Regions from separate parts of the Homo sapiens genome. Here regions 2, 3, 4, 5, 6 and 7 are each linked to region 1. The links are contacts of gene promoters, found by promoter capture Hi-C in blood cells and fetal thymus (Javierre and others, 2016). All regions are on one chromosome and are shown on one strand. Each heading gives the region's core, a stretch centred on a gene start or on the middle of the fragment in contact. The rest is flanking DNA. Distances are from core to core; before and after follow the strand shown. Region 1 holds the start of KBTBD3 (kelch repeat and BTB domain containing 3). Region 2 holds the start of ELMOD1 (ELMO domain containing 1). Region 3 holds the start of ALKBH8 (alkB homolog 8, tRNA methyltransferase). Region 4 overlaps LOC105369466 (a long non-coding RNA gene). Region 5 overlaps CWF19L2 (CWF19 like cell cycle control factor 2). Region 6 holds the start of LOC124902813 (a long non-coding RNA gene). Region 7 holds the start of CASP5 (caspase 5).

Region 1 (4,172 bases), core at 547-3,046:
TGCAGTATTCTACCACATATAAGCTTTAAATTTATAAGTATTGGGAAGTATTTTATGTCTGTACACACACGTCTGGTCCATGCAGTTTTAACTGTAGCATATTTCATAATATTATTTCCCCTTTATTGGACATTTTAGGCTGGCTCTAGACTTGCTGTCAAAAACAACTCTGCAGTGAGCAACCCTACTGTACCTACATCTGTGCATATGTATTTCTAGATCCCATATATTGATCACCCAGCTTCAACAATTAGCAAGGCATGACCTATCTTGTTCTGCTCTCTCCCACCTCCAATTATTATTTTTTAAATAATTACTAAAAACACACACACAAAAAAACAAGAATATAAGATGACAAAGTATATATTTTTAAAAATATCTTTCAGGTTTTTTTCTTCTTCAATTCTAACACTGACTTTTAAAAACTGCAGGCTTTTAAATGTAGCTTATTTTACAATTCCTTACAAATGAGTAAAAAATTTTCACCAATGTGCCTTAAAAATTATCAACTAGTCTACATTTCAAACAGAAAGTGTTTCAATATGGGACATTTTTAAGAAAGGACTGTCTTTTAAATGATGGTAATTCACGGTTGTTTCAAATTGCACCATATTGTACAGATTACTTGTTTTGAAATCCAGTTTTCCATTTGTTGCTTCAAAATACATAGCTAAAATAAATAAATCTACGTAAAATACTGTTTCCCATGGCATCTAGTGAGGAAGGTATCCTCTCTGGCTTCAATTTCATTGGCTTCAATCCCGGGGAGCGCAGGGCTACAAACTAAATCATACTGTCAATAATTTCTAGGGCCTACCACGTGCAGGGAGTCCTTGGAGAATGATGGGATATTTAACAGGCAGAATAAGCATAGGCTATGAACGCACACAAACAAAAAAAAATAACATTTAAAGATAAAGACATAAAAACATTCATTACAGAAAAACCCAATTTTGTCGGCCTTCCCTACACTTATTTCATGGTTTAGGAGGGTCTCCATTTGAAATAACAAGGGGAAAGAGATAATGTTTACAGCCATCGCGGCCTCCAAGGCGGTTACAAAGGCCGTGGAAACCAGGCCGTGCGTCGCCCACAACTCCGCAGCGCCGGCTGCTGTCGCCCGGGCCGGCCACAGGCTCCACAGCGAGAGGGTCGCGGCCAGCGCGGGAGTGTCGGGTCTCCACAGCCCGGCCCGCCTCCCCCAAGATCTGCTTCCTAGGCTCTAAATACCAAAAAAGACCTGTAGTACCATGGCTGCCTTAGCGTCCCGGGCAAAGACGAACTGGCCAATGCGCTCCTTCTCCTCGGGCTGAATCGATCGCACTGCCAGCAGCCATTCGGCTCGGCTCGGCAGCCAAGTGCCGCAGGAAAAGGCCCAGCGCACGCCCTCCATGGATGGCACCAAGCAGAACCGTTTGGCAGGGAAAACCATACACTGAAAGCGGACCTCGCCGCTATCTCGGGCCTGATGGCGCGGACGCAAACGTGGCCCCACCCCCTTCTTCCCGGCGTCCGTGCGCAGGGGACGGGCCGTCGCTACGCAGACTGGCCCACCGACAGCCCTCCCAGCCCGCCCCCGACTCAGCCACCTCCTCTCGGAGAAAGCAGCTGGGGGCGGAGACGGAGATCAGCCCTGCGCTTTGCGGCATTGTATGACGTCAAGTAGGCGAGGCTTCGGAGGCGAGCGAAGGGCGGGACCAAGGCCAAGAGCCCGACAGTTACGCCACTCACACTTGCGGAAGAGTTAACGGGACAGCGGTGCAGGCCAATCGCAACCAGTCCTCTGGAGGCAGGGAGACTGGGGTGGAGACTTCGGAGACTGCAGTTGCAGGTGGGTGAGCTCCGGGGTCTGAGGGAGGAGTGGGATGGTAGCCCTTATTCTCAGGGTCTGAGTTGGCCCCTGTGACCCACAGAGAAGAGAATGTCCTTGGCTTCAGCTGCTTCGTGTACGGGGCACGAGAGGTTTCCATCTCTAGGAGGGGGTCTGCAGTGGTGCCCCCTGCAGTTGTGCAACGCATCAGCCCTGAGTTCCTTCTTTCCCTGCCCCCATCCGCATCAGCCTAAGACCCACCCTCACACAGTACGCTCCCGACCCTTAGCAGCAGCCTACCTGAAACCCTCCCTCCGAAGGCCGAGCAGAGGCACTATCCCCAGTGCGCAACACTGACCCCGCCTGGATCCGAGGCTGCCAGCGAGCAGCTGAGCTAATGCTGGCTGTTTATTTGGGGCGATGAAGCGACCCAGGTGCTGTTTTGCTATTGCCAAGCCTGGGCTAGAGCACTAGCGAGAAAACAGGATTCCATTGTTGAGGTATCAGTGTTTCCATCATGACAGAGGTCCTTGCTCTAACAGCAACAGAAACAAGTAAATAACTTTGCTCAGTTATTTTCTCAGACTTTGCGAAGGGTCATATTGATGTATGTCTGTTTCCTTAGTTGTTCCGTGTAGGCTGTTGTTGACTCTCGTATGAAAGCCCACGCGATCCAAGTGCCCTGCAGGTTTTGGTCCAGGGAAAAGTTGGTCTCTGCAGATGACTGTAAATGACTACCTGGAGGTCGATTAAAGTGCGGTACTGCGGGATTCAGCCGATTTCCTTCTTCCTCTGACTGCCCGGAAATATCAGCCAAAGGCCAGCGGTAGTAATTAACACAATTACCTGCCTATGATTTCTGTCCTATTTAAGATGGGTTCTATTATGTTTTTATCTATACTTGTCTTCATTAACTTTTCGTGATATCATAAGCCCCCCGAATCCCTCGAAAGTAGATGGGATTCTGAGCACACACACACACAAATTCAGATCCCCAAAGGACAGTAAAACGAATTATTGGCTTAATATATCATCTTAGCTAACCAAAAGCCTGTGTCAGCTGCCATGTTGAAAATCTGCTTACCAGCTGCAGGGAGCTTACAATCTGGTAAGGCAAATAAATCATACGCATAAAAAGTACAATAAGAGACAGTGTAAAGATACGTAAGTGATACTAATACCCATATCAGCAATGATCATAACTCACTTCTCCATTTTTAACTAAGAATCATATAACCTTTCCTTCTTGTCGTTTTAAACTGATTTTTATAACTTTGATACATTACGTTTCTGTTTCCAAAACACTTCTGTGTACGTTATTGCACATGTTCTGTGCACTAGTTATTACTGATGGAGACAATGAGCTCAGAAAGAGAATTTGTTTAAATTCAGGAATTCATATCCCATTATTTTACCATCGAGCAAGATCTCTGTGTATTAGATCTATGGAGCCTAATACACAGACAGTAACGTAGGGATTATTTGTACTTGGTCTAGAATCTAGAATATTCTCCCCTTCTCCCATTATCACATTCCTTGTTTCCTCTGTATCATTCAGGCCCAAATCTCATACCAAACAGAATGTCTCTGTTCACCTAGTCTAAAATAGCTTACTCTCTCCACTTCCAAACCTCAGCCCCAAACCTATCACCCTGTGAACATATTTTATAGGTTTGTTTAATCCCCTTCCCTGTGTGGTTTTACAAATTCTCCAGAGCTTAGCTTAAACCTTCTCTTAGGGCCTACTTCAGAGTACCTTTTTCCAAAACAGTATTGTTTATGTAATTCATTTGGCAGTTATTCTAGTATTGCCTTATGACGTCTCTCCTATTGTCCTGAATTATTTTCATGTGTGTTATCTTGCAAAATAGAATGTACAGTACTTGAGAGGGAATGTCATGTATACCTTTTACAAATAGTATACATGAGTAAATGTTATTAATGACTCCACAATAGATTTATTACTGTCAAGGGTAACACTGCTTTTTATATTCTATCTGCCTTTACTTCCCTCACTTTTATTAAGGAAATATAAATATGCAGTTCATAACTTGCTTAACTATATTAAATGAACCCAACAATTTTATTAAAATATTTTTTACTGCATTGGTCAGGGGAAGAAGAGGACTAAAGTAATAGGGGCTCACTCAGTCTGTAATGATCATCTTGCTTGGTGCTGATCTGTGGCTTCTTAGCAGGATTCTGAGGGACTCGTATTCTATTTCCAGCTCTACCACCAATTGTCTGTGTGACATTGGTCACACAGGATCCTATGTGTGACATAACCTCTTCCATGTATTAATTTCAATGGAAAGGCATCGGATGAGATCATCTCTAAGTCTAGGTGTTTTTTAGATATACT
Region 2 (4,172 bases), core at 735-3,234, 1.5 Mb before region 1:
GAGCCTGTGATGTAACTGCGGTAGGTCTTTGTTGGAAAAGCCTTCCCTAAATGTAAAACATCTGTAAATTGAAGCACTTCAGCTTCACTGTGCATGGGCTGGCAAGATTAAAGAGTTGCTTCTTTCAGCATCCTGTACTGGAGGCTTAAAATTTTGTTCCACAGAGGAATTCCTTATAGGTCTTTACGAAGATTACGTATCTATCTCACCAAAGCTGGGAGAAAAGCAGGCTTTTTCTGCAAAAGAGAACCATTTCGAGTACTGATTGCTGTGTGTGCTGGTTTACTGGTAAATGGTGGTGATGCAATGGAAGTTATAACCCAAAGTGTAGGAAGACGCCCTACAACCTGTTCCAGTCCTCAACGTTCCCTACGTTAATGGGTTCTTCTTTCAGTGTTCTTGACAGTGATGTCTTACAGAGAAGACATTTATTTCTTCTTCCTATGAAAAAGATTAAGATGAGAGAAATACCTCCCAATGTAGATACAAGAGTGTGCCTTTGGCAAAATACCAACTAAACTGACCCCCGAGAAAACTTCTGGGGGAGGGAATGACTAAGTCTGCTGTAACTACGTGTTGTCATAATAGGTTAATGAATTAAGACATTTATCCCAATACAAGCATACTACCTGCTTTCCACCATATTGGCAGCACCAGTTAAGGACGGTTGTCAAGCCACCGGCACAAAACGTATACATTGCAGAGATGCAGAACAATGCCTGGATGCCTGCCCAAAATTGGTCTCTCCAAATGACAGACTCAATTGATAGTACCAATCTACGGCCCACTGGGGGTTAGCAGCGTATTTTCCTAGGTGGTGGGGGAAAGGGATGAAATGTGGAAAGCTCAGGGCACTGTGCAGAGCAGAAAGGCTGACAACATATTCATTAAACTTGATCTGAAGCAAGTGAGCCCGTGAGGTCGTTCCTGAAATATTCATAAGATGTGTTACCGAACTCGCCGCTTAGAGGTTGAGCATAAACACTGAGTCAGAACAGCCCGTACCCACACTTGGAAAACAAAAAAAAGCACCCACAACAGCTCACCCCACCACCACACTCCACTGCTCTGCTTTTAACAGCCCCGTCAGCTGTCAGCTGTCACTCCCCACTCGGCTGTCCAATTCTACCTGCCCGGGAAAGAGATGCTCCAATATTGAAGTGCGGAGTTTCCCAGCAGTTGGAGGAGGCGCAGCTCAACAGCCCAGCCGACCGCTCCTCCCAGCTCGCTGCGCGGAGGACCCCACAGTCCGGCGGCCCCGCAGCCCGGCTGCCTAGCTCCTCCCTGGAGACCGAAGCCCACAAGGCAAGGGGTTCCCAGGGACCCAGACCAGCCCCTCGCCCCAGCCAGGCCGCCCTTGTCCCGCCTTCCATTTTGGCTCTGTCTGGGATCCCTTCCCCGAGCCCTCGGCGTTAGGTCGCTAGGCGACCTACGCCCGGGCCGAGATGCAAACAGCCTCTCGCGCCGACCTGCAGCCTCTCGGGTGTTAATTGGGAGGACAGGATAGAAGGGGAAATCACTGTCCTGGGTGACCCCGGAGCCCCTGCACCAAGGCAGAGTGCACTTTCATTCCCGTTCCCTCTCTGCCCCCGATGCTTAGCATTTCTGCTGCCTCCCAGGCACAGCGCAGCTTGCGTGATGCCTCGCGTCCTCGCCGCACCTCTCTCCTCCCCAAGGGCATTCGCCCCTACTCCCTAGGCTCCTCTGGGGTCGCCAATCACCTGGACTCTGGCGGCGGTAGGCTCAGCAGCTCCCGGCGCGCGGCGGCGTGGTCTTCATCTCCGCCTTCCCCAGGCGCTCCGGCTACGCGCTCCGCGGCGGCGAGCGACGCGCTCGGTCCCGGGCGCCGAGGCTGGACAGGGGCGGCCGCGGCTGCCGCACTGGCTGCGGGCGCGGAAGGGGCGGGGGCGGGGCAGGAATCTGGGTCGCGTGGAGCGGAGCAAGCCGGGATGCACCCGGGGCGGCTGGCGGCGAGGAGGCGACCGAGAGCAGCGGGGGAGGGCGTGCAGAGGCTTCCCTGGGAGCACGAAGCGGGCGGCTACTGAGCATGCCCAGTCCGGGAGCCGGGGGCGCGGGCGCGGTGCTGGGGGAGAGAGCGCGGCACCCAGTGCCGGAATCTGGGGGGAAAGGGTTAAATCTGCGGACCCCGCTGCTGTGGGAGGTGGCTGGTGTGGCCCAGTTTAATTGCTCCCGGGTGGCCTCCCTGGAGGAGCCCACGACAGGAAGATGGTGAACCTGAGATGACCTGTCAATGGGATTCCCAGACAGTCCGGGCAAGGTGTGTTCCCCGCCCTCTCCCTGGATAATTGTCCAGAAGTCAAACTTTGTTTTAGTTCAGCTCCAACCTCCCTCGTCTCACCGAGCACCCAGTGACTCTTCCAATCCTGATCCCCACCCTTCACCTGCCTTCCCGGGACTGCAGAACCCTATCCCTCACCCCAACCGGCAGCCCCCGCCTTTCCCACTCCTGGCCCAGTCGGGTCAGATTCTCAAAGAGCCAGCTCTTTAATTAGGTGTAATTGAGAGATCGTGTCAATCCTGCGAGGTCCATATCTGCATTTCAACAAGGGCTTTAGAAGCAATACCGTAACCCCGGGGTTAATTATAACAGGATGAATTATAGACACCCTCGTCCGGGGCTGTTTGGGGGAACATTGCTTCGTGGGGCCCCAGAAGCCACTTCATACAGACAGAGAGAGAGAGAGAGAGAGAGAGAGAGAGAGAGAGAGAGAGAGAGAGAGAGAGAGAGAGAGAGAGAGAGAGAGAGAGAGAGAGAGAGAGAGAGAGAGAGAGAGAGAAACCTGTGCCTTCCGGATTGCATTTCATGTTTGATGAAGAACGTTTTCTCCATAGCTAATCAAAAAAGTCTCTTTAATGAGGCCGCATGGGGTTGGGGAAAGACCAAATGAGCTTCGAGGTCGGCGCTTATTTTAGTTTCATTCATCACTCCAAGCCGGTTACCTGACCGTCTTGTGCCTCTGTTTCCTCACCTGTAAAACAAAGGGTGGTTAATACCTACCTCTGCGGGCTGTTGTGAGGATTACTTGGGCAGCTGGCGGCGCGGAGCAGCCTGGATACCAAAGCATCTGCCTGTCCCGCAGTGGATGTTCCCTGAATAAAAGTCTCTGCAGGTTCCACCTCCACTATTCTGTGTTTATGAAAAGTTGGGTTAGTGATAATCCTTAAATGCTGAACATTTATCTTATTTCCTCTTCACATTAAATGACCTTAAAGCCTTGACCTTTCTGATTTTTTTAATCATTGTTAAAAGCATTAGCCACTATTTACTTTTCTTTCTTTTCAGGGAGATATGAAGGATACCTCCCTGAATAAACGTCTTGGAAAAAGATAGACCTTTGGAGGGAAAAGCTTCTCGGGAGAGATTCATTAGGGATAGATTAATCCACCTGACAAAAGAATTTTACTCCATAGTCTTTTAAACGTAATTTGCTTGCATCTCCCTGTGGTCCTTGTTTCACAACTATTGCATGAAGTAATGTATGCCTGTATGGAAGGAAATTTACTTCCCATGCATACTGTTGACTATTTAAGTATCAGAATTCAAAAGATAAACTTTTTATTATCCCCCAAACATACTATTTTTTTAATAACACATTGCTTTATTCATGGTGTTCCACCCTTTCTGAAATACCATTCTCAAAAAAAAAAAAAAAAAAAAAGAAATACCATTCTCTCTCATTCTATTTCATGAAGTGCTACTCACTCTTCAAGCTCAAATGTCACCTTCTCTCTGAAGCCTACCCTGAACCTCAAGACAGAGTGAATGCTGTGCTCTCATAGCACCAGTGCATACTGCTATCACAGTACTCATCACAGCCTATCACTGTGGTTCAAGCAATGTAAAACTACTTACTGAGCAACTGTTATTTGCAGGCGCCATTCTACATGTTAGGAAAATAAGAACAAACAAGACAAAGTTCCTGCCCTCATGGAACTTACAGTCTAGTTGAAAAAGACAGAAAATAAACACCTAAACTGTAAATAATCACTAAGGACAGAAGTCTAGTAATTCTGTTAATTTTTGTCTTTGTGTTATCCATCAAATTACGCTATAGAGTCTTGACTCATCCTTCCAAAAAACATCAATAAAAATATTAATATTGGCTCTAGGCCAAACAAATGACATGGACATGGATCTCTGCCAGTTTGTT
Region 3 (4,172 bases), core at 780-3,279, 1.5 Mb before region 1:
GGGATTGCCTATATTTAATTACGGACAGAGTGAGAGAAACTAGTGGAAAATTCTGAAAGTAAGTGATCAGATCGTATAAAGAGAATTAAAAGAGAGGTGCAGAAAAAAAGTTTTAAAAGCTTCAGCACCTTAAAGCAGGACAAATACTGAGATGAAGTAATTGAATTTGATCAGTAAGAGATAAGAGGATATTTTACACTGTTATCCAGTTTGGTAGACACCGGCCACTTGTGGCTACTTAAGTTTAATTGAAACTAAAATTTAAACATTCAAAATTCATTTCCTTAGTCATACTAGCCACATTTGAAATGCTCATAAGCCACACGTTAACTAGTGTCTATTATGTTGGACAGCTCAAACTATAAAATATTTCCATCATTGCAGAAAGCTCTATGGGGATGTGTTTTTGAAAGCATCCAGTAGTGCAGAAGCAGAATTGCAATGGGGAGATTTCCTGTGTGTCCTCTTATACTCATGTAGCTTGCAATGTCTGGTGGATTTGACCTCTCCAGCTTGCACTTGCCTCCTCATTTTTACTATTAAGTTTTGGTCTCACCCTTTCTTTCCTAGACTATTGCAATGCTTGCCTATCTGCCTCTTCTGTTCTTTCATGTTTGTAACCTATTCTCCACACAAATCATTCCGCCACTCAACAGCACTCTTTTTTCACTGCCACTTTTCCTGGTCAGCCAGCTATTTTATTGTTAGTCCACTGTGGTGCACTGCAGATAGGGGCCATTGTATCAACAACATGGGAAGGTGATTCCTCTTCCCCTACACCTTTCCCTCCCTGCACTCACATAGCTCATAAACCAATGCAGGTAGAAGGATTATGGTACATTTATATAACAAATAACAGAGCAGGAACAACTGCTAATCATCACCCTCTCCTTTGTCTTTTACTTATGATCTGTTACCAGCTCTTTTTTCTTTCCCTCTGCCACTACTGGGCTTGTTAATATTTCGTTACTTTTCACTTCATCAGTCATCTTCTAGTCTCTCCTCCCACTTGCCACAAGAAGCTCTGGTCATATCATTTCATTTCTCTAACCTTCCTCCCTGCAACTCCCACTCTGCAGGCCTACAGAATTCTGTCTTGCTTCCTTCACCATTCTTCCACACATCTTTCTATTACTCTGTGGTACTCACCATTCCCCTGGCACATTCATGCATATTCACTTCCTTCCCTCCCGCCCATGCAATGCCATCTTTCAGACCCCAGGATCCTCTCCCATATCTCTGTGAACCCTGAATATCTGAGACAGGTCTCAGACAATTTAGGAAATTTATTTTGCCAAAGTTAAGGACGCCCGCCCGTGACACAGCCTCAGGAGGTCCTGATGATATGTGTCCAGGGTGGTCGGGGCACAGCTTGGTTTTATACATTTTAGGGAGACATGAGGCATCAATCAATATATGTAAGATGAACATTGGTTCCGTCCAGAAAGGAGGGACAAATTGAAGCAGAGGCGGGCCAACTCAAAGTGAGGAGGGGGCTTCCAGGTCGCACGTATTACAGCTGAGAGACAAATGGTTGCATTCTTTTGAGTTTCTGATGAGCCTTTCCAAAGGAGGCAATCAGATATGCATTTATCTCAGTGAGCAGAGGGATGACTCAGAGGGATGACTTTGAATAGAATGGGAGGCAGGTTTGCCCAAGCAGTTCCTAGCTTGACTTTTCCCTTTAGCTTAGTGATTTTGTGGCACCAAGATTTATTTTCCTTTCTCACCTCTAATAAGATTCAGGAGGAAATATGCACGAAGAATAGAAGGTGCCAGGGGACATTGCTGAAAGACCAAAGGGCCCAAACCTGTTTGACCTTGTCCATTTGGAGAGCAACAGATAAAAATATAGCTGCACTACCAATTATTACTACTCCCCCCAAAAAGACAACTGAATTTTCAGTGTAACAGACAGCACTTTACAAAGACACTTGGTCGAAAAAGGGTCACTCCCGGGCTCTGGGAGGCGAAGAGGACTGTGGGAGCGCTGTTCGTTGTCCCGCGGGCTCATGGGAAATGTAGTGCAGTTTTCTCCAACATGGCCGCGCCCAGGGGAGATGGCGTGCAAGTATCCGCTGCGGTGTTCTGGTGCTAGAGTGGAGAGGCTGGCAAAGAAGAAGGCACACGCATGGTGAGAATCCGGCCTGAGCCGAAGCGGAGGTGTGTGGCACTTCTTACTGGCGGGCATACGGGCAGCAAATCACCGCTTCCTCTTTTCAGCCTCTTCCGGTCTTCTCTATCCGCCTTGCCAGCTAGGGCTGAGAACCTAGGGAAAGGGGATGGATCCCAGAGGCGCCCTTGGTGCAGTGTGGGCAGTAGGGTGTCTGCGTTGGGTGGTTCTCTCAGTGTTTAGGGTGCATGTGTTTGTGTTTGGTTCGGGCGCTCACGTGGTGCCTGTGTCAATCTTCTGTTTTCTTTGGGGTTGGAGAGGACGGTTGCAACATGGGGCGTGTTAGTGTGGCGCTTCTGGGGCTTTTCTGACCGGTGACAATCGGTCTGATTGCATCGATGCAAAGGCAGTGCTGATGATCTGATCCCTTGCGCAGCTGAGTCTTCCTGTGCTCTTATTTGAGCAATCCCTGCGACTCCTGGACCTCTGGTAGCGTCAGCCTGTTATTTTGATAGATTTCATTGAATATTTATTGTCAGTTGTATGTCAGGCACCAAGTCTGTGCCCTTAAATAGATGACAGTTTTCTGGCCGAAGCCCAACACAAACAGGCAATTATAATACCATGTGAGAACTCTAGAGATAGAGGTCCATGCTAGGTGTTAATGAAAACGTTGAAGAAGGCCACCAAACTCAGAATTCTGGAGGAGGGGAGGTTTAGGAGGTAAGACAGCAAAGTCGATTTAGGTTTATTCGACAAATGGTTATTGAGTGGCTGCTAGGTGCTAAATCCTGTTTAAGTGCTGGGTGCTACAGGGTGAACAATAGAGACAAAATCTCTACTTCATGGAGTGAGTGTTCTTTATTCAGTTATGGGGAAAGACAGAATAAACAAATTAATGAGAGTGTAAGAAAATATGTAGTAAGTGTTATTCAAAGAGTTAAAACGGGGTGCCGTGACAAGTGATGGGGTGAATTTTTTTCTAAAAATTTTAAATCTTTATTTTCTTTTTAAATAGATGATGCAGTTTAAATAGCTACTAACTTCAAAAGTCATGAAAGAAGAAAGCTCCCTTTCATTCCTTTACTCATCGATCCATTTTCCTTCCCTGGAGGCAACCCATATCACCAATTTCTTGTGTGTCCTAAAGATTTATATGTAAACTCTGTATACCAGTGCCGTACGTTAAAATTGGGCCTCGTTTGATAGGAAGTTAGATTCTTTCTAATCTTTGCTATTAATTATTAGGTTGTGCAAAAGTAATCATGGTTTTTGCATTTTTTTAAACATATAAGTATAGGAACATTTGTCTATACTGCTTGTTTCATAATAGGCTCTCTATTATTCAAGGAGGGCATGATGTACATACTACTATTACCACGTAGGGCAATATCTAGTAGGATATATTGGCTTTAAACTCACTAACAAGCAAGTAGCAGAGCATGCATAATCTCCAAACTTTCATTATCCCACAGAGAGTACGCTTAGGCTGGAGCTGGCTGAACCGGACTCAGCATGGCTAGTATCATAGTTAATAGTGACTTCACTCCAGTAATGTCACAGGGAGCATCCAAGTATCTGTGCATTAGTGGAAACTCTGGCCAGGGAAGTGGCTTTGTCAGAAGGGGGCACCTCCAGACCTCAGCAGCTGGTATCAGCCTATCCTTGTTGAGATGACTCAGATATGTTGGGCCAGCACATTGCCTAGCCACTGGAATGGTGGAAAACTGAGCCTCAAAGGCCATTTAGTGTCTTTCTTCACGTGCAATAATATTGCATGACTGAGGGAGAGAAAAAGGAAAGGGATGACAAAAATGTGGTTATGAGGCTCCACCTGCTGGTGCTGGACTCTTAGTGGCAGACATTTTAAAAAGATATATTTAGCATCGTTTCTTTCTCATTCCTTCTTTGCAGTGTTTGCTCATGTGAAATATTAAAAATTCTGTAGTGCAGTCATCCCTTGTTCTCCATGACATACTGCAAAGTTGCTGTTCCACAGATGAAGATCTTGAAATGGAATGGCTCTAAAATAGCTCCTTTGAAGGGCCTCAGATATTCT
Region 4 (4,172 bases), core at 979-3,478, 1.4 Mb after region 1:
TGTGTTTGTGTGTGTGTGTTTGAGGTGTGTGTGACTGATTGAATTTTGGAACTTTTTACGATCTTCCTTTTTCTCTACATAGTACTCTGAATTTTTTTTATTACATGCCTTGGTGTAGAAAACTTTTTACTTACTGTGCCAGACAGTTAGTGGCTTTTTCATTTGGAAACTCATATTCTGGAAAATTTTCCTCAGTCTTTAAAATTTTATTTTCCTCTCCAATTCACCCTTTCTTTCTCTTTCTGGATGTGCTCTTGGACAGGTATAAAATCCCCAAAATTTATACCTTATTTTCTTATTTTCTCTCTTATTTGTTATCTATTTTGTTTACTTGATACTCTATCGAGCCTTTCTTCTCAGAGTGCCTGAGACTGGCAACATTAGCATCATCTGCAAACTTGTTGGCAATGTACAGTTTCAGGTCCCACTCCAGAAATGTGCCTTTAATCAAATTCTCCAAGTGATTCTATGCACAATGCAATTTGAGAAGCATATCTCTAGAATTACTGTGCACTTGTGCTTCAGTCATTATGTTGAATTTTTAAATTTCTACTGTCATATTTTTAATGTCCCTATGATCCTTTTTTGGTCTCTGAATATTACTTTTTATAATAGCATTCTCTCCTTGTTTTATGAATAAAATATTTTCTCTCTCTGATGATATAATTACACCTTTTGCAGTTTTTTTCCCTACACATGTGTGTGATCTCTATTTCTCTAAATCGTTTCAGTCTTTTTATTTGTTTTGGTCTTAGTCATTCATGTTAGAGTTGTTTTTTTAATACCTGATCATTTTGACTGCTCATTTTAAAAGTGAGACACTAGAAAGATGTGTTTGTTGAACTGGAGATAAGGTAAGTACATGACCTTGTCTTATCTATCAATATAGAAAGGTTTATTTCTTTTAGATGAATCACTTTTTACAAAACTTATAAGCCTGACTATTATCAGCATCTTGATGAATTAGGGGAAGCAGCTGAGAGGTGATAACCATTCAGAATTCGAAATTTACTTAAGCCTGTTTGTATTCAGTAAATCTAAATACCCATATTGTCTGACTAGTATCCTTAAGCTCAATGACTATTGCATCAACACATATAAAGATTACCTATCACATTGGATTGCATACAGAAAATGTGGTACATATTCAACATGGAATACTACACAGCCATAAAAAGGACAAACTCATGTCCTTTGCAGCAACAAGGATGCAGCTGGAGGCCATGATTCTAAGTGAATTAATGTGGGAACAGAAAACCAAGTATCACATGTTCTCACTCGTAAGTGGAAGCTAAACATTGACTACATATGACCATTAAAAATGGCAGCAACGGACACTGGGGACAGGAAGAAAGAAGCGGGGCATGGGCTGAGAAACAACTTATTAGATACTATGCTCACTACCTGGGCGATGGGACCATCTTTATCCCAAACCTCAGTAGCATACAACATACACGTATAACAAACCTGCACATGTACCCTTTGAATCTAAAATAAAAGTTGAAATTATTATTTTATTTTCATTTTGATTATTATTATTATTTTTTGAGATGGAATTTCGCTCTTGTTGCCTAGGTTGGGGTGCAATGGCATGATCTCAACTCACTGCAAATTCCATCTCCCAGGATCAAGCAATTCTTCCTCAGCCTCCCAAGTGGCTGAGATTACTGGTGCCCAACACCATGCCTGTTTTTTTTTGTTTTTTTTTTTAATATATTTTTATCAGAGACAGGGTTTGACCATGTTACCCTGGCTGGTCTCGAACTCCTGACCTCAGGTGATCCGCCAACCTAGGCCTCCCAAAGGGCTGGGATTACAGGCGTGAGCCACCGCACCAAGTCAAAATTTTTTTTTGAAAAACTGACTCTCCCATCTGTTGGCATAGAGAAACAATAGAAAATGGTGGCTCTCCTGGCTGGTATGTGGGATCTGGCAGTTTAAATGCCTCATGTACAAATTTTTCTGGGTTTAGCATCATCTAATATCCTCACCTTGAAATGTATTATCTGCCATCAATTCTAAAATCTTTCTGAAGTTTTGGGAGGACAACTCAGCTTGCTTCTTATTAGTTTTGCTTCTGAGATACTTAATGTTCAGCTTTCTTAAATCTAATAAAGCAGTTTCTACCCATATCTCAGCTTTCCAAATTCAAAACTTTTGTTGATGAGTCTTGTATCTGGTATCTTCTCTCTATTCTCTCTTCCCATTTTTGACCTTGGGAATTTATATTTTCCTTTCCATCTACTGTCATTTTAGTGGAGTGTGTAATGAAATAAAATTTTTAAAATTGTGTGTTCTTTTTTACCAGGATGTCTATGTTATCTCACTTTATCTGTACAGCAATCCTGTCCTCCAGTGACTATATTGCAATGAGTTAAGAAGAGAGTTTCAGAAAGATAACATGCCTGGCCAAGGTATTAACAAGAAATAAAAGTAAAAATAAAAAACCTACTAAAGAGTATGTACTTGTAACAATATTTTCTGACATTGAGTTCCCTGGTATTTCTACTATATTATGTATTGCAGGGCTGAGTCACCAAACTACAGCCTACATTCCAAAAACGTCACACTGAGTGTTTTTGTCAATAAAGTTTTATTGAAACACAGTCATGCTTATTTGTGTATTAGTGGCTGTTTCCACACCATGATGGCAAGAGTTGGTAATTTTTTTTTTTTTTTTAACAGAGTCTTGCTCTGTCACCCAGGCTAGAGTGCAGTGTGATCTCGGCTCACTGCAGCCTTCACCTCTCAGGCTCATGTGATTCTCCTGCCTCAGCCTCATGAGTAGCCAGGATTGCAGGTGTGTGCCACCACCTCAACTAATTTTTGTATTTTTAGTAGAGATGAGGTTTCATCATGTTGGCCAGGCTCGTCTCGAACTCCTGGCCTCAAGTGACCCTCCCACCTTGTCCTCCCAAAGTGCTGGGATTATAGGCATGAGCCACCGTGCCCAGCCAGATGACCATTTTTCAAAGAGACTGCAATGCCTAAAGTATTTTCTCACCTATTCAGAAAAAGTTTGCCAGTCTCTACTTTAAATACTTTTATGGTGGCTACCTCGAATCACCCAATTCTACTAACCCTGTCCTCATCTTTGCACATAGTTCCACCTCTGGAAAATGTAAATCTCTTTATCTTACTGTACTGTAACTTTGTTTATGGAGAGCGTGTATGATTTAACCAGGTTTTAAAATAATCGTATAAGTCATATCATCTCTGACTTTTTATATCCCCCAACTTAGAGGCAATTTTTTTCACTTTGTAATTCATTTTGGTTCATAAAAATATTTATAACTATCTAGGCACCTGGTAGATTTTGGGGAAAGAATATTAGGACACTGTCTTTATTTACTTACTCTAAAATTGTAAGTACAATTGGTGACTTTATAATTTCACTACAAGCTCTATGAACACATCTGGATTTGGTCAGAGAGCACCACATGTCTTTGTTAAATAGAAGCATCTGCTATGTCTTTGTATCTTATTAAATCCTAATATTAGTAACACTGATCTGGTTAAACACGGAAATTTCAACATATTCTTAGGCTCTATCTCATTCATCTGATAACCCGTGTATGTGGATGTTTTCCTATTTCTGTACCCAAAAAACAAGTAAATCTGGAAGAGTAATCTGTTGGCACAAATAGGCAATTCTGCAGCATGAATATAGCCACTTTAATATTTTTATTATGTTTTAAATTCACGTCTCCATAAGTACAATTTTTTAATTTAAGACATGGATATAAGGGATTTTTATGTGTGTAGTGCAAACCACAAAAATCATAATATTCAGCATGATGGAATTTATTTACTGCTTGCCATCAAAGACATATTCTTTGGAAATAAACTAGCACATAATGAAACTTCATATTCCAAAATAAAAAATAAAAAGTGAAAATAGCCAGCAATTTAAGAATAAAATTGAAAAGAATTACCAAAATCATTGAAATAATTATTTTTGGTAGAATGCTACCAGAAAGATATTTAAGCGGATTTGGAAGGAATAGACAGATGGTACTATATATGGCATTATATAATTCAAAGATAGGATGATAGAGTCCCAAAATGCCTGAACCTGACAACAAAGAACCTGAATTTTATTCTATTCTCTGCGCTAATTGCTCTGTGACATTTGCTGTATTCTAGGCATCAACTTCATCATGAAAAGCTAG
Region 5 (4,172 bases), core at 887-3,386, 1.4 Mb before region 1:
ATAAATGTCAATTAGGGAAAGTTGACTAATAGTATTAAGTTTAGTGTTAATGATTTTCTGTTCACCTGTTCAGTCAGTTACTGAGAAAATAGTATTGAAATCTCTTAATTGTTTTGTGGATTTTACCTATTTCTGCTTTCAGTTTTGTCAGTTTTTGCCTTATGTAATTTTGAAGCTTTATTAGGTACATAGACAGCTCCTTGATGAACTGACTGTTGTTACGAAGTTTTCGTTTTTATCTTTGGTAATACTCTTGTCTGAAGTCTCTTGTATCTCATATTAATAAAGCCTCTTCAGTTTTCTTTTTTTGTGTGTTTTCATCGTCTTTTTAAAATTCTTTTAGTTTTAATGTACCTTTTTTATATATTGAAAGTGTATTTCTTGTAAGCAGTGTATAATTGGGTCTTGCTTTTTTATCTCGCCTATCAATTTCTTCTTTTTTATTTTATTGATTGATTGATTTATTGATTGATTGACAGAGTCTTGCTTTGTTGCCCAGGCTAGAGTGTAGTAGATCACTGCAGCTTCAACCCCTGGGGCTCAAGTGACTCTCCCACCTCAGCCTCTTGAAAGCTGGGACTACGGGTGTGCACTTCGACGTCCAGGATATATATATATGAGTTTTTAAATTTCCAGATATTTGTGGATTTTATTAGGTTTTTTTGGTTATTGACTTTGGATTTAATTATTATTTTATTGTACTCTGTATAATTTCAGTTGTTAAAAAGTTTTTGAGACATTTTATATTCTAGCCTATGATCTATATATATTTTGTAGAGATGTGGTTTTGCCATGTTGCCCAGCCTGGTCTCAAAGTCTTGACCTTAAGCAATCCTCCCACCTGGGACTCCCAAAGTGCTGGAATTACAAATGTGAGCCACTGCATCTGGCCTCTTCCTTTTTTTTTTTTTTCTTGAGATGGAGTCTCACACTGTCACCCAGGCTGGAGTGCAGTGCCGCAATCTTGGCTCACGTCTCTTACTTTTCAATTAGATGTTTTTTGTGCTCTCTAATCTGTTAGCTGTTTATGGCTTTTAAATTTTTTGTTAAAATTCATTAAAATTATATCAGCCAAATTTATGTGGCTACTATATTCGACAGTATATAGAAAAATTCTTTGAATAGTACTGGTTTGGATTATTTATGTTTAATGTAATAATTGATATGGATGAGTTTAAGTCTACCATGTTGTTATTCCTTTTCTATTTTTTCTTTGTTCTTTTTTCCTTTGTTCCTTCCTTTTCCTGTCTTTTGGATCGAGTGTTTTTTAGCATCCCATTTCATCTGCTGTAGGCTTATTAGGTATACCTTATTTATTTTTAATGACTGCTTTAAGTCTTATGCATATTTTAACTTACCATACTCTCAAATAATATATAATTTTACTTTTATAATTAGACTTTCACCAAAATATACTTCCATTTTCTCCTACCATATTTTTTGCTATTGTTGTCATATATTTTACTTCTACATATGTTATAAACCCACATTGTTTATAATTTTTAATGTCATACATTCTTTTTATTTATACTTTAGTCAGTTATCTTTTAAATAAGTTACACATATGAAGAAAGTCTTTTATATTTACCCACAGATTTATCATCTCTGATATTCTTTATTATTTTATGTAGGTCTGAATTTCTGTCTAATACCATTTTCCTTTTGTCTGTAGAACTTTCATTAACATGTATTATAATATGGATTTGCAGACATTGTATTCTCTCAGCTTTTGTTTGAAAATTTCTTTTATTTCATCTTCATTCTTTTTTTCTTTTACCACAAACTCAGAAGTTCCTACTAGCAATCTTCATTTTTCAGATACTTGGCTAGATAAAGAATTTTAAGTTTATAGTGTTTTCTTTTTTTTTTTTTTTTTGCACTGTAAAATGTCATCCCATTGTCTTCTGGTTTGCATTGTACATATTGAGAACTCTGTAGTCATTGTAATATTTTTTCTCTGTATGTAGTGTGCCTTTTTATTCTGGATGCTTTTAGGGCTTTTTTTTTCATCATTATTTTTCAGTGAATCAATTGTGATATGTCTTGGTATTGATTTCTTTGTGTTTATTCTACTGTCTTAGTTCATTTGGGCTGCTATACCAAAACTAACTGGGTGGATTATAAATGACAGAAACTTATTTCTCACAGTTTGGGAGGCTAGAAAGTCTAAGATCGAGGCGCTGGTAGACTTTGTGTCTGATGAGGGTTCAGTTCCTCAGAGATGGCTGTCTTCTCACTCTAACCTCATATGGCAGAAGGGAGTGCTCTTGGGCTATGTTTTATAAGGGCACTAATCCCATTCCCAGTCATCTCCCAAAGGCCTCAGCCCCTATTATCATTGTCTTGGGAGTCAGGATCTCAACATAAGAATTTGGTGGGGGACACAAACATTCAGAGTGTAGCATCTGCCTTAGGTTCATTGTGCTGCTTTGATTTGTGAGTTTACAGTTTCCATCAAATATGAAACTTTCAGGCTTTTTTCGAAGTATTTTTTTTTTCTGTTCCCTCTCATTTTGGTAGTCTCCTTAAAATAATGTCTCACAGGTTGATGAGCCTGTGTTCACTTACTTTCTAGCCTTTTTCCTTTCTATGCCTTGGGTTGGGTATATTTTATTGCTATGTCGTGAGCTTCAGGTTTACTGGCCTTTTTTTTTTTTTTTTTTTTTTTTTGTGACGGAGTCTCGCTCTGTTGCCAGGCGGGAGTGCAGTGGCGTGATCTCAGCTCACTGCAACCTCCGCCTCCTGGGTTGAAGTGATTCTCGTCCCTCAGCCTCCTGAGTAGTTGGGATTACAGGTGCTCATCACCACGTCCAGCTAATTGTTTGTATTTTTAGTGGAGATGGGGTTTCACCATGTTGGCCAGGATGGTCTGGATCTCCTGACCTCGTGATCTGCCTGCCTCAGCCTCCCAAAGTGCTGGGATTACAGGTGTGAGCCACTGCGCCTGGCCGACTGGCCTTTTCTTTTGCTGTGTCTAGCTTACTGTTATCCCTATCCAGTGACATTTTCATTTCAGGTACTGTATTTTTTTTTTATCATTAGATGTTTCGTTTGGATCTTTCTAATGTTTTTCAGTTTATCTCCTCATTATCTTTACATTTTCCCTTCCTTGAACATATTTATGATAGCTGTGTTAAAGTCTTGGTTTGCTGTTTCATTTTCTCTTGTTTTTTCCTGTTCTGTTTCAATTAAATGATTTTTCTCTTGAATATGGGTCACATTTGCTTGCTTCTTTGAATGTCTAGTAACTTTTAATTGGATGCTGAACCCTATGAAACTTATATTGTGACTGCTGGATTTTGTTGACTTCTTCAGAGAGTATTGAGTTTCCTTTTGGCATACAGTTAATTACTTGTGAATTAGCTTAATCCTTTTCAAGGATTGTTTTTAAGTTTTGTTCGTATGCACCTAGAATAGCTTTACTCTAGGACTGGTTTAGCCTTTCTACTAAGGCATGACCTTTGTGGGTTCTCTGCTGATTGTCATGGATGTTCAGCGAGGTTTCTTTATTCTGGTTGGGAGGAACTAGAATGTCTTCCAGCCCTTTGTGAGCTCTGGGGATTGTTCTGCTTACAGCTCTTTGGTAATTGTTTTCTCCATGGTAATTTTTCTTTGCCTGACCTTGTGGACTCTCATCCTCAGCATGTTCAGCTTGGTCTTTCTTTAAAGACTCCAGGGGTCCTTTAAGTAGATTTCTGGCACCCTTTCTCTGTGTAACTTCCCATCTGTACTTTTGTTTCAGCCTTCACAAAGTTCAAATTCCGTTTCCTTTGCTCAGTGAGATTTTCATGTTCTGCTTGGGTTACCCCTCTATGCCACAGTCTAGAAAGTGCCTTTAGATAAAAAGCTGTAGAGATTGTAGTTTCATTTTTATTCCAATTTGTATGTATTTCTAGTTTGATGCCATTTATTTTGTCAAGGACAGAAGCAGAAGTCCTCAAGATCCCTTGAGTTTTGCTGGTAGCACTTTTCTGTCTTAGTTCCACCTTCTAGGTTTTGACCACTAGATAGAATTAGAGGTGTGGTTAATTCTGCAGGCTGCACAAGAGAAGGAGAGCCCTGAAGGCTGTGTTAGGTCAGGAGGCGTATTAAGCTTGATAGTTAATGAGTTCAAGGTAAAATGGAGATTGAAACTAAAATTAGCAAGAGAACTGAAGTCGTAGCATGGGGAG
Region 6 (4,172 bases), core at 1,071-3,570, 1.1 Mb after region 1:
CTACTGGCTTCAGAGTGGAGCCCTTGGAGGAACAGGGCCAGGAAAGCATGCATTTTTTTTCCAAGCTAAATAAGCAGGCACAGCTGAAGGCAAAGACAGATCTCCAAAATGAAGGATGCCATTTTATACTGGATCCCAGATCCCCAAAAGGAAGGAAATACTACTGGAGAAGAGAGTGCAGTGCTTCTAACCTGCATTTTATTGCAAGGCAACCTAAAGCCAATCAACCCATTTTGAAATCAGCCCATCCCCCATGGAAGTCTCATCTCTCAGTCAGGCATGGGGATGTTTCCGTATCTTCCAGGTGGCCCAGAGCATGCTTCTCTGACCCAAGTGTGCGAAGAGCCAAGTTTCCCTCTGAAAATACTATTAGCCATCCCTTAAAGTATATTTCCTACCTAGTTATTACATACCAAAGCTATCTCATAATGCAAAGTAATTTCTGATATCCCCAAAATTCAAACTGTCAGATAACACAATGCAAAACAGAACAGAGCCTTTGATTTTGAGAGTGATCCATCTACTTTTAATTCCTTGGTTGTCATGAAGAAAACAGAGGGTTTTTTGTTTGTTTCTTGTTGTTTGTTTTTCCCAAAATGGGGTCTGTGGTGCTTCCTCTGTTTTTCTCAAGGAGTCTCAGGCTACCAAAAGTTATCTTAGTGCCTCTTATGTGTGCATTAAGAGTGGCAAGACAAAAAATGGAGAAAAATAATTCAGTTTACTAAGAAGAAAAAACCCTCTTTTACAGAAAAACGAGATCCAAGAAGAGAAAAACATAAAGGTCTTTTAAATGTATCCATAACTTGTTTATTCACTTTTAATTAAGCTGACTTTTAACCTTAGTGCTCTTAACAAAATCCTTTTAAATTTCGTATTACCCAACTTTAGCCATGCGGCCAACATTTCTGGCTTTTGAACTTTATCAAAAGTAACTTCCCAGGTGCTTCAAAGGTGTGGTAAGCAGTTTCTTTTTACAAGATTTAGAATTTCCCCAAGGTAGTCCAGAGAAAGGAAAATTCAAGAGAGGAAATCAGAAGCTATCCATGGGGTTGTGGGGGAACCTCATTAAATGGCAAAGTTATGCAAATAGCAAACCAGAAGGAAATTGTTCCAGAAGCCAAGAATAGAGCCTGAGCCTCTATGTCAAAAGGCAAAGTCTTAGCTACTGAATTACAGCATTGAGCAGTTTCTATTGCTATTCCAAGAAGGAGACTAGAGAAGCCACTTTTAACCTTGCCAAGGCTTTTAACTGCTCAAGAAAAATTTTTAGGGCTGGATGGTATAAACCAAAAGGAAGTATCCACATATGGTCACAAGATTAAGCTCTTAAGGAGGCCAAACAAGACAGAGAAATTTCATACAGTATTGGTTTCAGGGACCCATTATAATTGGCCAGCCTGCTGAGCTGGCTTGAAAAGCAGGCTTATAGGGGTCCTAAACCCATGTTCTATCTTGTGATACCCCTCTTTCCATTACAGAACACTGAAAGACAAATTCTTAGCAAAAATACACCAGATTTGCTATAGGCTAAGACTAGTCTTGTAAATTCTTTTTTCTATTAATCAAAACTTTACAGAGAAACATATAGTGATGTTTACTGTTTACACAGATGGAGAAAGAGAGAGAGACCAGAAACCTAGCTGGTAAGAATTTCTTACACTTTTTGCTGGCATACCAGATTTCTGGGTGCCTTTTCTCTGTAACTTCCAGAAGAACGGAACGGCTTCTGATCAGCCTGCTCACCTCACCATAGTTGTGGGGTTCAAGCCACTTTACAAGAAAAAAGTCACCATTTTCTGTTTTATGGAAACATAGGCAAGATTCTTAAAATGCAAGATGCTGCCCAACCAGCTGCATGGGGAACCATTTAACATTTTCTATCCCAGCAGAATTCACATAACAAAACAGACACTAGTCACCTCGTTCAGCACCCAATATCAACCTGGCAAAGCTCAGACTTTTTTCTGTTCGTCCCTGTTGTCTTTGATCCACTCCAGGTGGGGAGGGACGACCTCAGAACAGTAATTCACAATGGGGTCTCTGGGTAAGGCAAAGAGCAGATAGTCACCATGAGACAGGCCTATTGAACTTTCTCCAGGGCTCATCGAATGTAACCAAATAAGAAGAGTCCTCTGAGTTAGGCCTGCTGGACTTCCTTCAGCAATTCCTTCTGAGATTCCCTCCACATATACAAACACACACGAAGATGAGACAGACAGAAGGCCTTCCAAATCAGATGATCCCTAAACAGGAACTCCAAGAGTATCCCTTCCAAACTATCCTCCTATTCTCTGTCTGAGAAATCTCAAAATTGTCCTGATTGAGGACAAGTCTCGTGAACCAAGACTCTTCCTACTAGTTAGAGCCAACCAAGACCCCAGTGGAGCCGAACAGATACCCCGTGGTGGAGCTACAAACAGACACCCTGCAATGGGGCTACAGACACCCTGCAATGGGGCTACAGACACCCCATCATAGAGCTACAGACAAGTCGAGAGAAGGAAGGAGGCATTAGCAGTGCCTAGTAGATTCACCAATCCTAACACCCTGCAATGGGGCTACAGACAGACACCCCACTATGGGGCCACAGAACCAGTCAGGAGAAGGAAGGAGGCATTGGCAGCACCTAGGATACTCACCAATCCAGACACCCTTCAATGCAGCTACAGACGGAAACCCTGTGATAGGGCCACAGTTAGAGGACATCTCTCCAGGATTATTTCTCCGTTGCAATTAAATGCATGCACATTGGGTTGGCAGTGCCTGCCAGTGGAGAGAGTACCAGAGCCAGCCCCCAGTCCAAGAGAACTAGGCGGCTACTTGGGCTACCTTCTGGATCCATCGCTGGAGCGGGGGCACCAAACCACAAGCAGGTAGCCACAAAGGCTTTCCCAGTCTGATTTCGTTCATTGTTGTAATTTCCTCAGTTATAATTTTGCAAAGGTGGTTTCATATTCCTTAAGAGTTGAGCCACACATAAGTTTTATTCATTTGTTCCTACATGGACTTGACTACTGATTCAGTAAATAATTAGTAAATATTCAGTAAATAACTAGTAAAAAGAATGCCAAAAATAGTGCAGATGTAGTTCATGGCCCCTGTCCTCACAGAGCATAAATTCTAACAGTGGATAGAGATAAGTAGGCTGGGAATCACAATTAAATGGAAAAATAAAAAAAAAGGCTGGATGTGGTGGCTCAGGCCTGTAATCCAATAGCAGCAATTTGGGAGACCAAGATGGGTGGATCACCTGAGGTCAGGAGTTCGAGATCAGCCTGGCCAACATGGTGAATCCCCATCTCTACTAAAAATACAAAAATTAGCCAGGCGTGGTTGTGTGCACCTGTAGTCCTAGCTACTCAGAAGGCTGAGGCAGGAGAATCGCTTGAATCCGGGAGGCAGAGATTGCAGTGAGCCAAGATAGCACCACTGCACTTCAGCCTGGGTGACAGAGTGAGACTCTGTCTCACAAAAATATATAAATACATAAATAAATAAATGGAAAAAAAATGCTACTCTAAGGAGATACAAGGTGCCCTAGGAGCATATATCTCTGATGCTGTCTCCTCTGGAAGAATCAGAGAGGATTCCCTTAAGAAAATACCATCTAATCTGATACTTGAAGGATAGACAGATAGACAGATAGACAGAGAACAGTTCAAAAACCAGAAGAAATTAGAAGCGGGGGTGCTGAAACTATACAGATCCCTAAGTAGAGACTTGATTCCCTGAGAAAGGTGCCATCTAATCTGAGACTTGAAGGTTAGACAGACAGCAGTAGGAAAACAAGAATGAATGAGAAGGTAGGGGCTGGAAATACAGAGACCCCTAAATAGAATCTTTCCAGAAATTAAATGAAGGCAGAACGTTTTGAATGTAATGAGCAAGGTGGGAACAGTATCAGAAAATGAGTGAATGAGAAGGCCTAGATTAGAATAGGCTGAAAGTTTTCATGGTCAAATCTAGATATTGGAACACTCTTCGTTGCAAAGAGTAGAATAGAGGGACGGAGAGTAGATTGATAAAGTTCTTATGAATTTATTTCTTAAGAAAGAAAGGATGTTGGCCCGAATAGAAGTAATGAACAATTAGAATTGAGAGAAGTGGTCAGATTCTGAAAATGTTTAGCAAATAAAATCGATGCAATGTGAATTAAGAAGGGAAATAAGACA
Region 7 (4,172 bases), core at 735-3,234, 1.1 Mb after region 1:
AGCGACAGTGTAGTGTGATAAAGAACTTTTCCCAAATCCCACAGTTTGCTACTGACAAATCCATGAACTTGCATGTTTCTACCCTTTGCAAAAGTATTTAAGACAAAGTAAGTTTTGAATCAACCCTCAGTAGTTCACAGACTTCTTGAAAAGATAAGACAGCCATCCAAAATGAAGCGCTTGGCAGATGGTGCCTGACACCCTGAAGAAACTCTAGGATGCATGGTGTGCACAGTGAAGTCCTGGCATGGTGCAGAGAAAACGAGTTTGGGGTGAAATCATGCACTCAGGGATGTTAAGATTTAGGGAGGATTCGAAGAACTACCCCTTACTTGCAAATATGTTTTTTTCTAATATTTAACAGATTAAATGAGAGTTAATTTCTGACTTCTTAAACACCTTCATAGTTGAACACATTACAGTCTCTCTCTCTCTCTCTTTTTTTTTTTTTTTACCTTTTATTAACTGTTTCTCTGGGCATATCTCTTCTGTGTTATCATGCATACTCTACTACAACCTGAGACTACATCTGTGATCAGTCTTTGCTCAGAGAATATCAAAAAGGAGAAGTGAATTGCCACCCTAAGTAAAAATTAACTGTTAAAGCAGTTTTAGTCAGTTGAAGAACAGCATTCCAGGAAGTAGATAAGAGGATTCCTTCAGAACTGTCTCCAATCAAAGCGTAAGATGACAGGGAGATGGGGAGGAGAAGACTCCATCATGATTCCTCAGCACAGTTTAAACAAGAAATACATTTATTGAATAAACAATCCTTTCCTTGTTTCTTTTTGCTGTTGTTGTTGACTTTGTTGAGTATCAGTTGGTTATAGGTGTGTGGCTTTATTTTGGGGTTCTCTATTCTGTTCCATTGGGCTTTGTGTCTGTTTTTTTTGTACGAATACCTTGCTGTTGTGGTTACTGTAGACTTCTAGCATAGCTTGAAGTCCAGTAATGTGATGCATCCATCTTTTTGAAAAGCAGTTTGGAGATTTACCAAATAACTAAAAAAAGAACTATCATTTGTCCAAGCATCCCATTACTGACTGAATCCTCAAAGGAAAATGTACTGTTCTATCAAAAAGACATGTGCTTTCAAATGTTTGTCGCAGCACTATTCACTGTAGCCAAAATAATAGAATCAACCCAGGTGTCCATCAATGGTGGATTGGATTTAAAAAAATGTGGTACACTGCTACTATGGAATGTTACACAGCCATAAAAATGAAACCCTGCCCTTTGCAGCAACATGGATGCAACTGGAGGCCATTATTCTAAGCAAATTAATGCAGAAACAGAAAACCAAATATCACATAATCTCACTTGTAAGTTCTAGCTAAATATTGTGTACACATGGACATAAAGACGGGAATAACAGACACAGGGAAATACCAGAGGGAGGAATGAAGGAAGAAGGCAAGAGCCGAAAAACTATGTACTGGGTGCTATTCTCACTACCTAGGTAATAGGTTAAATTGTACTACAAACCTCTGCATCACCTAATATACTCTTGTAACAAACCTGCATATGTACCCCTGAAACTCAAATAAAAATTGAAATGAAAAATAAAGAAACCCAAGATATACAAAATATTTGGTTAATTCTTATGGGAAGATGCAAGGAAACTAGTTAGATTTTACTCATTCAGGACATGTGTTTTTAGACGAGCAGAGGTAGAAAAACTGACAGATCAGAAGAGAGGGATGAATAAAAGAAGATGTGGGGCTATGGAGAGAGAAAAGGAAAAAGAAAACCAGGCTGAGGTTTCAACCCACAAAACAATGTTTTGTCATTTGCATTTTTTTTCCCCAGGGAAGAATCTAGAGTTCAAGAATAGAAAGCCAATTTGCTTACTACAGGGCACTTCCCAATGATGAAACTATAGGTTCCCAGAAGCAACTTCCCATAATCTGTAATCACTTGTCCCCACTCCCTGCAATAAGGAAGTACCTAGTGTATTTTATCTCTGAGTCTGAGGCACTTTCCAGTGCTGTACAAAGAGACAGAGGCTGTTAGCTATGGCTGGTGAGTCTGGGCCCTTTTCTGACTAGCAGCTGGGTACTCAGGTCTTAGAAAAATCTTGATTTATTGCTATGTGACAGGCAGAAATACCAAAAGGGAAATCAACCAATAGTGTGCATGCTGAATCTTTCTCTTATTGGTGGTATGTAGTTTGAATCCTGAGACTGTGTAGAGACACTGAAGGAGAGTATGTTCTCTAGATGTTTTCAAGCCAGAAAAAGGTTAATTCCTTTCTTTCAGCTTCTGGTAATCAAAGAGAGAGTAAGGAAAGACAGAGTAAGTTATTTGTGTGAGAAAACTCCGGAAATTTCTAAATGCACTCTGAAATCTTCTCTGCTTCCTCTTGATTCCAAATTAATCCTCCAGACTATGAACCTTCTCCCCACAATCAGATCTGAGAGCCTCTGTGTTCTCAACGTGTTGTCATCTCTTATCTTGAATTATCTTATTGGTCTGTTTAAAGTGATTGCATTTTTCCACCTTTCTATGTAGTCCTGGTACTAACTCTTATAATGTAATATATCTTAGGTTGCTATCATAGACTTTTAACTGTCTTCCCACTCCCAAAAACTTAACCCTTCAGTCCATACTGCACACTACTTTCAGGCCAACTGTCTTATACACAGAAGCTAAAAAAGCCTATGAGTTGGAGTCCTGGGCTACTTAAGCAGCTCGTATTCCAGCAGGTCATATTGCGTCTTTGGTTTCATTCTCCTCACTGGAAAAAGGAAGAAACTGGAATAGATCAGTGCTTTCTAAACCTTATAACATATATGAATAATCTGCAGTCTTTTTTTTTCTTTAATTTATTTATTTATTATTATTATACTTTAAGTTTTAGGGTACATGTGCACAATGTGCAGGTTAGTTACATATGTATACATGTGACATGCTGGTGGGCTGCACCCACTAACTCGTCATCTAGCATTAGGTATACCTCCCAATGCTATCCCTCCCCCCTCCCCCCACCCCACAACAGGCTCCAGAGTGTGATGTTCCCCTTCCTGTGTCCATGTGTTCTCATTGTTCAGTTCCCACCTATGAGTGAGAATATGCGGTGTTTGGTTTTTTGTTCTTGTGATAGTTTACTGAGAATGATGATTTCCAATTTCATCCATGTCCCTACAAAGGACATGAACTCATCATTTTTTATGGCTGCATAATATTCCATGGTGTATATGTGCCACATTTTCTTAATCCAGTCTATCATTGTTGGACATTTGGGTTGGTTCCAAGTCTTTGCTATTGTGAATAATGCCACAATAAACATACGTGTGCATGTGTCTTTATAGCAGCATGATTTATAGTCCTTTGGGTATATACCCAGTAAAGGGATGGCTGGGTCAAATGGTATTTCTAGTTCTAGATCCCTGTGGAATCGCCACACTGACTTCCACAATGGTTGAACTAGTTTACAGTCCCACCAACAGTGTAAAAGTGTTCCTATTTTTCCACATCCTCTCCAGCACCTGTTGTTTCCTGACTTTTTAATGATTGCCATTCTAACTCGTGTGAGATGGTATCTCATTGTGGTTTTGATTTGCATTTCTCTGATGGCCAGTGATGGTGAGCACTTTTTCATGTGTTTTTTGGCTGCATAAATGTCTTCTTTTGAGAAGTGTCTGTTCATGTCCTTCGCCCACTTTTTGATGGGGTTGTTTGTTTTTTTCTTGTAAATTTGTTTGAGTTCATTGTAGATTCTGGATATTAGCCCTTTGTCAGACGAGTAGGTTGCGAAAATTTTCTCCCATTTTGTAGGTTGCCTGTTCACTCTGACGGTAGTTTCTTTTGCTGTGTAGAAGCTCTTTAGTTTAATTAGATCCCATTTGTCAATTTTGGCTTCTGTTGCCATTGCTTTTGGTGTTTTAGACATGAAGTCCTTGCCCATGCCTATGTCCTGAATGGTAATGTCTAGGTTTTCTTCTAGGGTTTTTATGGTTTTAGGTCTAACTTTTAAGTCTTTAATCCATCTTGAATTAATTTTTGTATAAGGTGTAAGGAAGGGATCCAGTTTCAGCTTTCTACATATGGCTAGCCAGTTTTCCCAGCACCATTTATTAAATAGGGAATCCTTTCCGCATTGCTTGTTTGTCTCAGGTTTGTCAAAGATCAGATAGTTGTAGATATGCGGCATTATTTCTGAGGGCTCTGTT

Evidence for each region. Contacts are between HindIII fragments. The CHiCAGO score rates a contact against its expected background, and 5 or more counts as called.
Region 2: the fragment with the promoter of ELMOD1 here is called in contact with the fragment with the promoter of KBTBD3 in region 1 in 1 of 17 cell types (naive CD8 T cells); the score reaches 5.4 in naive CD8 T cells.
Region 3: the fragment with the promoter of ALKBH8 here is called in contact with the fragment with the promoter of KBTBD3 in region 1 in 1 of 17 cell types (total CD4 T cells); the score reaches 6.4 in total CD4 T cells.
Region 4: a contact is called between a fragment that was not itself captured here and the fragment with the promoter of KBTBD3 in region 1, in 1 of 17 cell types (M0 macrophages). The highest score is 5.2, in M0 macrophages.
Region 5: a fragment that was not itself captured here is called in contact with the fragment with the promoter of KBTBD3 in region 1 in 1 of 17 cell types (non-activated CD4 T cells); the score reaches 5.9 in non-activated CD4 T cells.
Region 6: a fragment that was not itself captured here is called in contact with the fragment with the promoter of KBTBD3 in region 1 in 1 of 17 cell types (neutrophils); the score reaches 8.6 in neutrophils.
Region 7: a contact is called between the fragment with the promoter of CASP5 here and the fragment with the promoter of KBTBD3 in region 1, in 1 of 17 cell types (neutrophils). The highest score is 5.7, in neutrophils.

What each region holds. Positions count from the first base shown.
Region 1 is chr11:106,074,971-106,079,142 of GRCh38, reverse strand. KBTBD3 (kelch repeat and BTB domain containing 3) reads left to right here and starts at 1,796. Exons shown (of 4, transcript NM_198439.3): 1 at 1,796-1,831; 2 at 2,436-2,636. It overlaps AASDHPPT (aminoadipate-semialdehyde dehydrogenase-phosphopantetheinyl transferase), which reads right to left and starts at 1,481. Exons shown (of 6, transcript NM_015423.3): 1 at 1,250-1,481. The coding sequence starts at 1,432. RefSeq lists enhancers at 1,214-1,453, 1,764-1,873, 1,884-2,003. The HindIII fragment of the contact is 8,387 bases long and covers 26-4,172 here.
Region 2 is chr11:107,588,959-107,593,130 of GRCh38, reverse strand. ELMOD1 (ELMO domain containing 1) reads right to left here and starts at 1,984. Exons shown (of 12, transcript NM_018712.4): 1 at 1,722-1,984. RefSeq lists an enhancer at 1,482-1,541 and silencers at 1,792-1,931, 1,992-2,101. The HindIII fragment of the contact is 4,180 bases long and covers 1-3,371 here.
Region 3 is chr11:107,563,592-107,567,763 of GRCh38, reverse strand. ALKBH8 (alkB homolog 8, tRNA methyltransferase) reads left to right here and starts at 2,029. Exons shown (of 12, transcript NM_138775.3): 1 at 2,029-2,163. RefSeq lists enhancers at 1,737-1,796, 1,643-2,159, 1,867-2,356, 2,160-2,678. The HindIII fragment of the contact is 7,705 bases long and covers 122-4,172 here.
Region 4 is chr11:104,689,746-104,693,917 of GRCh38, reverse strand. The region is part of intron 1 of LOC105369466 (a long non-coding RNA gene); the gene reads right to left. Among named protein-coding and RNA genes, the nearest start is that of LINC02552, 83 kb to the right of the region's middle. The HindIII fragment of the contact is 6,917 bases long and covers 1-4,172 here.
Region 5 is chr11:107,446,842-107,451,013 of GRCh38, reverse strand. All of the region lies in intron 3 of CWF19L2 (CWF19 like cell cycle control factor 2), which reads left to right. Among named protein-coding and RNA genes, the nearest start is that of CWF19L2, 8.9 kb to the left of the region's middle. The HindIII fragment of the contact is 3,918 bases long and covers 178-4,095 here.
Region 6 is chr11:104,959,784-104,963,955 of GRCh38, reverse strand. All of the region lies in intron 1 of CASP4 (caspase 4), which reads left to right. It overlaps LOC124902813 (a long non-coding RNA gene), which reads right to left and starts at 3,513. Exons shown (of 2, transcript XR_007062986.1): 1 at 1-3,513. The HindIII fragment of the contact is 6,671 bases long and covers 1-4,172 here.
Region 7 is chr11:105,020,980-105,025,151 of GRCh38, reverse strand. CASP5 (caspase 5) reads left to right here and starts at 1,984. Exons shown (of 10, transcript NM_004347.5): 1 at 1,984-2,022. The coding sequence starts at 2,016. The region is part of intron 1 of LOC124902742 (a long non-coding RNA gene); the gene reads right to left. The HindIII fragment of the contact is 8,276 bases long and covers 1-4,172 here.